3 separate regions of the Homo sapiens genome follow, and regions 1 and 3 are each linked to region 2. The links are contacts of gene promoters, found by promoter capture Hi-C in blood cells and fetal thymus (Javierre and others, 2016). All regions are on one chromosome and are shown on one strand. Each heading gives the region's core, a stretch centred on a gene start or on the middle of the fragment in contact. The rest is flanking DNA. Distances are from core to core; before and after follow the strand shown. Region 1 overlaps DPF3 (double PHD fingers 3). Region 2 holds the start of DPF3 (double PHD fingers 3). Region 3 overlaps DPF3 (double PHD fingers 3).

The links. Contacts are between HindIII fragments. The CHiCAGO score rates a contact against its expected background, and 5 or more counts as called.
Region 1: a fragment that was not itself captured here is called in contact with the fragment with the promoter of DPF3 in region 2 in 1 of 17 cell types (endothelial precursors); the score reaches 9.2 in endothelial precursors.
Region 3: a contact is called between a fragment that was not itself captured here and the fragment with the promoter of DPF3 in region 2, in 1 of 17 cell types (endothelial precursors). The highest score is 7.9, in endothelial precursors.

What each region holds. Positions count from the first base shown.
Region 1 is chr14:72,682,682-72,685,507 of GRCh38, reverse strand. All of the region lies in intron 7 of DPF3 (double PHD fingers 3), which reads left to right. Among named protein-coding and RNA genes, the nearest start is that of MIR7843, 170 kb to the right of the region's middle. The HindIII fragment of the contact is 1,052 bases long and covers 1,007-2,058 here.
Region 2 is chr14:72,892,781-72,895,480 of GRCh38, reverse strand. DPF3 (double PHD fingers 3) reads left to right here and starts at 1,380. Exons shown (of 11, transcript NM_001280542.3): 1 at 1,380-1,424. The coding sequence starts at 1,393. RefSeq lists an enhancer at 1,126-1,420. The HindIII fragment of the contact is 4,463 bases long and covers 1-2,700 here.
Region 3 is chr14:72,760,238-72,762,937 of GRCh38, reverse strand. The region is part of intron 2 of DPF3 (double PHD fingers 3); the gene reads left to right. Among named protein-coding and RNA genes, the nearest start is that of DPF3, 130 kb to the left of the region's middle. The HindIII fragment of the contact is 922 bases long and covers 954-1,875 here.

The sequences.
Region 1 (2,826 bases), core at 283-2,782, 210 kb after region 2:
ATCTTGCACGTAGAAGAGGAAAGAGGGAAAGAGATGACGGAACAACTAGTAAGTGTCAGGCATTTTACACACATCACCTCATGTTATGATCATAAGTCCATTAGGGACATGTTATTATTCTCATTTTACAGACAAGGAAACTGAGGCTCAGAGAGGTTGAGTAACAGACAGCAAGGTGGGAAGCTGAGATGTGAATGGGCTTGAGTTGGATACCATTCAGTTATGTCAGGACTTTGGAACCCTGAGTGATGGGCCCTAGTCCCAAGGCTTGGATCTTTGTCATGGTCCTACCGATGTCCCTTAACTTTTGCCTCAAGACCAGTTGTCTAATGCATCATGCTGCATTGTGGCTTTTCAAAAGAGATGAACATGTTAATAGGCACTGTCTTAACAAAATTCCATCGACTGGGTGGCTTAAACAACCGGAATTTATTTCTCACAATTCTGGAGACTGGAAGTCCAAGATCAAGGTTCTGGTAGGGTCAGAGTGTGGTGAGGGCTCTCTCCTTGGATTGCAGATAGCTGCTTTCTCATTGTGTCCTCACATGGCCTTTCTTTGGTGTGTACGGGTGGAGAGAGAGAAACAAGCTCTTTGGTGTCTAATAAGGGCACTAATTTCATTACGAGGACCCCACCCTCATGACCCCACTGAACCTAATTGCCTTCCAAAGACCCTTTTCCAAATAACATCCCTTTGGGGGTTAGGACTCTGACATATGAATTTTGGGGATGAGGGACACACTTCAGTCCATAGTAGGCACATTTACTCTTCAAAGCTCTTTACTAACTTAGGCTGTTTGGGATGTTTTAGAGACCCCACCCCTGCATTACAAATTCTAGGTCATACTTTAATTGGTAAATGAGTTTTTTTCCTACAGAAAAAAAAATCACACATCATTCTATTCAATAATTTTCCTGAGTCTTTCTCTCTCATTCTGTGTCTCACTGTCTTTCCTGGCTCTCATTTTTTTTTTCTTCTAAACTTGCTCTTTTAAAAAAAAAAGCTTGAGCCTGAAGTGAAATATTAGGATTCATCCTTGCCTCTTGGTTTTCCTTCAGTCTTCCAAAATATACCCTACATTTTCTCCCTCTCTCTATCTTCTGGCCACCCCTGGCTTCTGCCTGGGTTGTTAAAACTTTTTTGATTGGTCTCCCAGCCTCTAAAGCAGGCTGTGGCTCATACCTGTAATCCCAGCAGTTTGGGAGGCTGAGCTGAGCAGATTTCTTGAGCTCAGGAGTTCGAGTCCAGCCTGGTCAACATGGTGAAGCCCCATCTCTACTAAAAATACAAAAATTAGCCAGGTGTGGTGGTGCATGCCTATAATCCCAGCTACTCGGGAGGCTGAGGTGGGAGGGTTGCTTGAAGCCAGGAGGTTGAGGTTGCAGTAAGCCATGATTGTGCCACTGCACTCCAGTCTGGGAGACAGAGAGAGATCTTGTTTCTAAGAAAATATATATATATGTAAAATATAAAGCAGATGATGTCACTCTCATGCTCTCAACACTTTCATCACGTTTGAATACAACCCAAACTCCTCATCTTGTGGGTCTGTGTTTTGCATCTGACAGTGTGGTCAGAAGCACCTGGGGCTTGGTGACAGCTTGTCCAGGTTTGCCCAGCTACAGCACTGAAAGCCCCACGCCCTAGAACCCTCTGTCCCAGTCAAACCTGGATGCGTGGCCACCCTACCAGGGGAGCTTTTAAGACATGTAGAATCTCAGGCTGTACCCTGGATCTATGAATTCCAACCTGATTGTTAATGAGATCCCCAAATGATTTGCACAGCAAAATCTGGGAAGCCCTAGCCTGTGAGGCCCTGCGTGTCCACCTCTCCGACTCACCTCCCCTCAGGTGCGCGGTTGCTTGGGTTCAGAGCCAAGTGAGCCACTGACTAACGTGTGACCTTAGCTGAGCTGCATAGCCTCCATATGCCTCATGGATCACTATGTAACATCAGATCATTAATGGCATCTATCTCATAGGCTATGATGAAGATTAAGTGAATGACTTCCGGGTGACATGACTGTCACACCAATTAAAGCCATGTTTCTCAAGCTTGAGGCTGCATCAGAATCACCTGGAGCATTTGTTAAAGCACAGCCCACCCACTGGATCCCACCCCCAGAGTTTCTGATTCAGCAATTCAGGCCCTGGAATTTGCTTTTTTTTTTTTTTTTTTTGAGATGGGGTCTTGTTCTGTCACCCAGGCTGGAGTGCAGTGGTGCGATCTCGGCTCACTGCAACCTCCACCTCCTGGGTTCAAGTGATTCTCTTGCCTCAGCCTCCTGAGTAGCTGGGATTACAGGTGTGCACCACCACACCCAGCTAATTTTTGTATTTTTAGTAGAGGCGGGGTTTTGCTATGTTAGCCAGGCTGGTCTCGAACTCCCGACCTCAAGTGATCCACCTGCCTTGGCCTCCCAAAATTCTGGGATTACAGGCATGAGCCACTGTGCCTGACTGGGAATTTGCATTTTTGACAAGTTCCCAGGTAAACCACTACCTTACAGAAATCTAGCTTTCCAAGACTGATGTTCAGTCAGTCAACTTCCTTTTAATTCCTTTTTTCTTTTGGATGCACTGAGCCAGGTAACTGGCCAGGAGTTAGGTTGTACTGTCAAATTGAAGGGGCAGCCTTGGTTTTTGCTCTTTTCCTAATGCTCTATCCCATGTAGGGCAGACGTCTCTGACTCTCAGCACCAACTTCCCGGCCTGCTTTTGGAGTGCGCCCCTGCGTGTGCCACCATCCTCAGGCTGTGCTGCCCCAAGACTCTGTGGTCTCTTGATTCCTTCCAAATCCTCAGGTCTAAAGCAGAAGGCTCATG
Region 2 (2,700 bases), core at 131-2,630:
TGTATGTAGTTGAACTCTTAAAATTCTGGAATGTTTATTTTATTTTATTCATTGTCTTGAGAGGAGCAAAAGGAAGCGAGAGGGCATAGCTTTGAAGAACTGGCAATTTGGCAACTTCTCTCCCCTTGCCACCCCTCCCCCACTATCTTAGCTATTTGATCTGATTAAACAGCTTTGGAATGGTAGCCAGACTTCTGTATGCTAACGAGGCCCCTACCCTATTCGCGATTTAATGCGATTTCATCCCCCCAGAGCTTCCCGGTGCCCAGTGGAAGCCTGACTTCGCAGAAGTCTCCCAATTTTGTCAGGGGCTCGCCAGTGAAGAGTTCACACTGACTTGAAGCAGACACAGACTCATTGGACGCCTCGGGTCACATCGGATTATTCATTAGCAAATTCTTTCCACCTTCTATCTAAGTAGTGAAAGGTGACGCCAGAATCGCGTGTGCCACTCCTCTAAAGGGACCCTGATAACACCCAGTCCAGGCTCTACAACTTCTGCCTAGTCACTTGCTTCCTAGCAGTAGAAAGTTTCCAAAGGTTGCCTTAAGTCCTCCCTACCCCTAAGCCTAAAGATCAGAGCTCCAGGTCCCACCACCTAGCAGGAATCTGAGCATTTTGGAAGTTTCTGGTGTAGAGGGAAGAACCGAAGGGGTGGTAGCGGGGAACCGCGCAGAGTAACCCCCCTGCACTACGTAAGGAAAGCCCTGGCTGCAGGAGGGAGCGAGCCTGACATTGAGACGTTCCAGGGGGAGGGTGAGTTGCTGTCCTGGAGTCGCCAGGAACAGCAGCGACAGTTCCAAGAAGCGAGAGAGGAAGGTGGCCGAGATAAAGAGAACACTTCGGGAATAAGAATATTAAAAAGCGGCAGGACCCAGAGCATTAGCAAACGGCAGAGCACATGTAGTAATTTGTTAACACGAAACGGCAGCCTTCCAACTTTTGCACTGAAACACGGGGATTTACCCTTTGGGGGATTAAAAATGTTGATACGCAAAGCCAAAGGCTAATGAATAGGATTCAGTGGCTTGCTGGCAATATTTAAATATTTCTGTCCGGGAGCGCAAACTCTTCTGCAGTTATTTAGAAAAGTAGGGAGTTAAACCAAACTATAATACTCTCCCGTGCGTCTCCACTTTCCCCAGCCCGAAAAGGAGCTACCAGCGCTGTACTGCCCCTTTAAGACCTGCTGGCTCTCGGGCTCTACAAAAGGGAGTGACCTCTGGGCTTTGACAGCTCTCCTAATAACTACCACGGCGCAGGCCCCGCCCACCTAGCTACCAGCAGCGCCGATTGGCCGGCGGGCCGGTATCCCGCGCTGTGATTGGCCCGTCGCTTCCCCTGAGCGAACCTTTAGAACTCTGAGACAATATTCTGTTACATTGTAGCAAAATGGCGACTGTCATTCACAACCCCCTGAAAGCGTAAGTAAGACTAAAAAATGTACATATTCCGCGTGGTTTCAATATGAAAAAAAAGGCGCCTTCTGCGTGGCGAGCGCTGCCAGAGCATTGCGCTTGCAGGCGCCTCCAGCCGCGGCGGGGCTTCTCTCTTCTTTCAGCTCTTACTTCTTCATCTTCTTTTTTTCCCCCAACGCGCAGAAATGTCAGGAGATGCAATTAACAAGAAGAAAATTGTTACATTTGTGTTCTGCTAAATTGCAGAGAGAGCCAGATATAGGGGTTGCAGGCGGAGAAGCCCGGCGCTCGAGCGCTCTACAGCAGGAGGGTCGCGGGAGCTCGGGGACGGCGCGGTCCCCGGAGTCCCCCGCCTCGCGGGCAGGGAGCGCGGCTTCGGGGGCTGCTGGGCGGGGGGCGAGCGTCGGGCAGTGGCCGCCTCGGTGTACTTGGCCGAGCCCCGCGCCCCCGAGCCCGCGGCCCCCGCCCCGCCGCTGGGTCCGCTGGGTCCAGCGGACGGACCGCGGAGGCTCCGGAGTTTGCAGGGCGCTCTTCGCCTTCCGATCGCTCGCGGGGAGTTTGTGCAAACCTTCCGGAGTTGGAGCACCGCGGGGGAAGCAGCGGGTCCCGGGCGTGCTGGGGCCCAGGTGGTCGCCCCGGGCTTTCCCCGGCAGCCCCCGGATCTCGGAGGCGCTCCGGGCGATCGAGCGTGTGTCTGCTCGTGTATTTGCGAGCGAGCTGGCTTTAGTGGATTAACGACTCGGGTTAACTTGGGGTGGATTTGGAGGCAGGGAAGCCGCAGGTCTTATGAATGGTGTTCTCGCCACCTCTGGGTGAGGCGCTGAGGCAGGCGGAGAGGCGGTTTTGGGGCTCCTGGCCCGAGGGGGCAGCGTCTGCTCCCGGCCGGGCGAGGGGCAGGTGCCTCTGGCCGCCTCGGGGAGACTTTGAGCGCTTGCCCAGATCCTGGACAGAGTGGGGCGGGCCGGGCGAGGACTCGCGGGGGCCAGCCCCGGGTCCAACAGCCAATTTCTGCCTGCCTGCCTTCCTCCTCCTTTTCATCCTTCCTTCCTTCCTTCCTTCCTTCCTTCCTTCCTTCCTTCCTTCCTTCCTTCCTTCCTTCCTTCCTTCCTTCCTTCCTTCCAGTCAGTGGAACTGTTAAGCCGCCAAGTCCGCTCGCGATCGCGGAGCCAGGGGTGGCCTCGGAAAACTAGTGTCGCTCTGAAAGGGGTGCTATTGGGTGATGTCGGCAGAGGGTGGCTCCCTCCGTATCCGAGGTGGGCTGGGGGGTCCTCACCCCTTCGAC
Region 3 (2,700 bases), core at 165-2,664, 130 kb after region 2:
TATATTCTTCCTATATCCTGCAACCTTGCTAAACTCATTAGTTCTAATAGCTTTCTATAGATTCTGTAGCATTTTCTATATAGTTGATTATCTGTTAGTTTGCTAGTAGATAACCTGAATAGTAAATAAAGAAAACTTACTTCTTTCTTTTAATATGAATAACTTTTATTTATTTTATTTGTCTCTTGCACTGGCTAGACTCTCCAACATAATATTAGGTAAAAGTGGTGAGACTGGACACCCTTATGTTGTTCCTGATCTTAAAGAGAAAGCATTTATTTATTTTTTTGTTATTAAGTATGACATTAGCTGTAGAATTTTTTGTAGATATTCTTTATCAGATTGAGGATGCTCCCTTCTATTTCTAGTTTGAGAGTTTTTTTTTTTAAATCACAAATGGATATTTGATTTTGTCATCTGATTTTCTGTGTCTATTGAGATGATCATGTGGTTTTTCTTTTGTTCATGGAAGCTTCATTATGTAGGAATGGTTGATTAAATTTAATATCTTAAGTTTACATTTAACATAATGAGTTACATTGATTGATTTCTGAATGTTAAACCAACATTACATTCCTAGGATAAACCCCACTTTGTTATGCTATTTTATCTTTTTAATGTATTGTTAGATTCATGTTGCTCAAGTTTTATTAGAGTTTTTGCATCTATGTTTATGAGAGATATTAGTCTATAGTTTTCTTGTAATGTCTGTCTGGTTTGGGTGTCAGGGTGATGCTGGTCTCATATAATGAGTTGGGAAGTATTTCTTCATTTTTACTTTTCTGAAACTTTATATAGAATTGGTATTATTTCTTCCATAAATATTTTATAACATTTACCAGTGAATCCATTTGGATCTGGCAGTTTCCTTGAGGTAATGTTTTTAATTATAAATTTAATTTATTTTATAGATATAGGGCTATTTAGGTTATCTATTTCATCTTGAGTAAGCTTTGTTAGTATGTGATTTTGTTTCTTTTATCTACATTCTCCTAATTGGTTGCACAAAGTTGTTCATAATATTGCTGCATTACTCTTTTAATATATGTAGAATCTGTGGTGGCATATTATTTTACTCATTATATTGTTAATTTGAATGTTATTTTTTACCTCATCATTCTGACTAGAGGTTTATCAATTTTATTGATCTTTTCAAATAAATAGCTTTTGGTAGAATTGTTTTTTCTGCTCTGATCTTTATATTTCCTTCTATTTACTTTGGATTTAATTTGCTCTTCTGTTTCTTATTTCTTTTAATTTTTTAATTTTTATGGTACATAGTAGGTTTATCTATTTCTTAAGGTGTAAACAGGTCATTGATTTAAGATATTTCTTTTCTACTACATCATTTTCTGATATAATTTCCCCATAAATACTATGTAAGCCTCATTTAAAAAATTTGATATAGGGTTTTTAGTTTCATTCAGTTCAAAATATTTTTCTGTTTGGTTTCTTCTTTTACTCATGGATTATTTAGAACTGTATTGTTTAGTTTCCAAACACTTGGGACGTTTCCAAAGTTGTGCCCATTATTTATTTCCATGTTAATTCCAAATGGTCAGAGAATAATTTTTATGGTTCAAATTCTTTTAAATTTATTGCAACTTGTTTTATGGCACCAAATGTGGTCTACCTTGGTAAATATTCTGTTTGCTCAGGAAAAGAATTGTGTTTTGCTGTTGTTGTTTGGAATGTTCTATAAATATCAATTAGGTCAAATTGGTTGATAATGTTTTTTAAATCTTCTACATCCTTATTTTCTATTTATTCTATGAATCATTGAGAGGTAGGGTATTGAAACTTATGACTATAATTGTGGGTTTGCTTATTTCTCCTTACAATTCTATTACTTTTTGTTTCATGTATATTGAAGCTTTGTTATTAGGTGTATAAACATTTAGTATTGTTATATCCTCAATAAATTGATTCCTTTATCATTATAAAATAATCCTCTTAATCTCTATTAATATTATTTTATCTGAAATCTCCTTTGTCTAATTCCAATATAGCCACTCCAGCTCTCTTTTGATTAATATTAACATGAAATATCTTTTTCCATTCTTTTACTTCTTGCCTATTTGCATCTTTATATTAAAAGTAGTTTTTTAATAGGCAGCATATAGTTGTGTTATGCTTTTTACATGTAATCTGACAATCTTTTTTAAGTAGGGGTATTTAGGCAATTTACATTTAATGTGATTATGTTTTCTCTCTTTTTTGTTGGTTTATTAACTATAACTCTTGTTTTGTTGTTATTTTAGTGATTGCTTAGTGTTTATAGTGTACATCTTTAATTATAGTTAACTTTCAAATTATATTATTCTATTTCATGAATAGTATAAGGAGTCTACAATAGTACTGTGATTAATAGAATAAGGCCCCTCCTCACCTCAGACATCCACATTTTAATTACTGAAATCTGTGCGTATGTTACCTTACATGGCAAAAGGGACTTCGAAGACAGGATTAAGGATTTTGAGATGGTGCGATAATCTTGGATTATCCAGGTGGGCCTAATGTAATCACAAGGGTTCTTATAAAAGGAAGGCAGGAGGAGTTCAGAGTCAGAGTAGATGTGTTGATGGATTACAGGCATGCGCCACCATGCCTGGCTAATTTTTGTATTTTTAGTCGAGATGGGGTTTCTCCATGTCGGTCAGGCGGTTCTCGAACTCCCGACCTCAGGTGATGTGCCTGCCT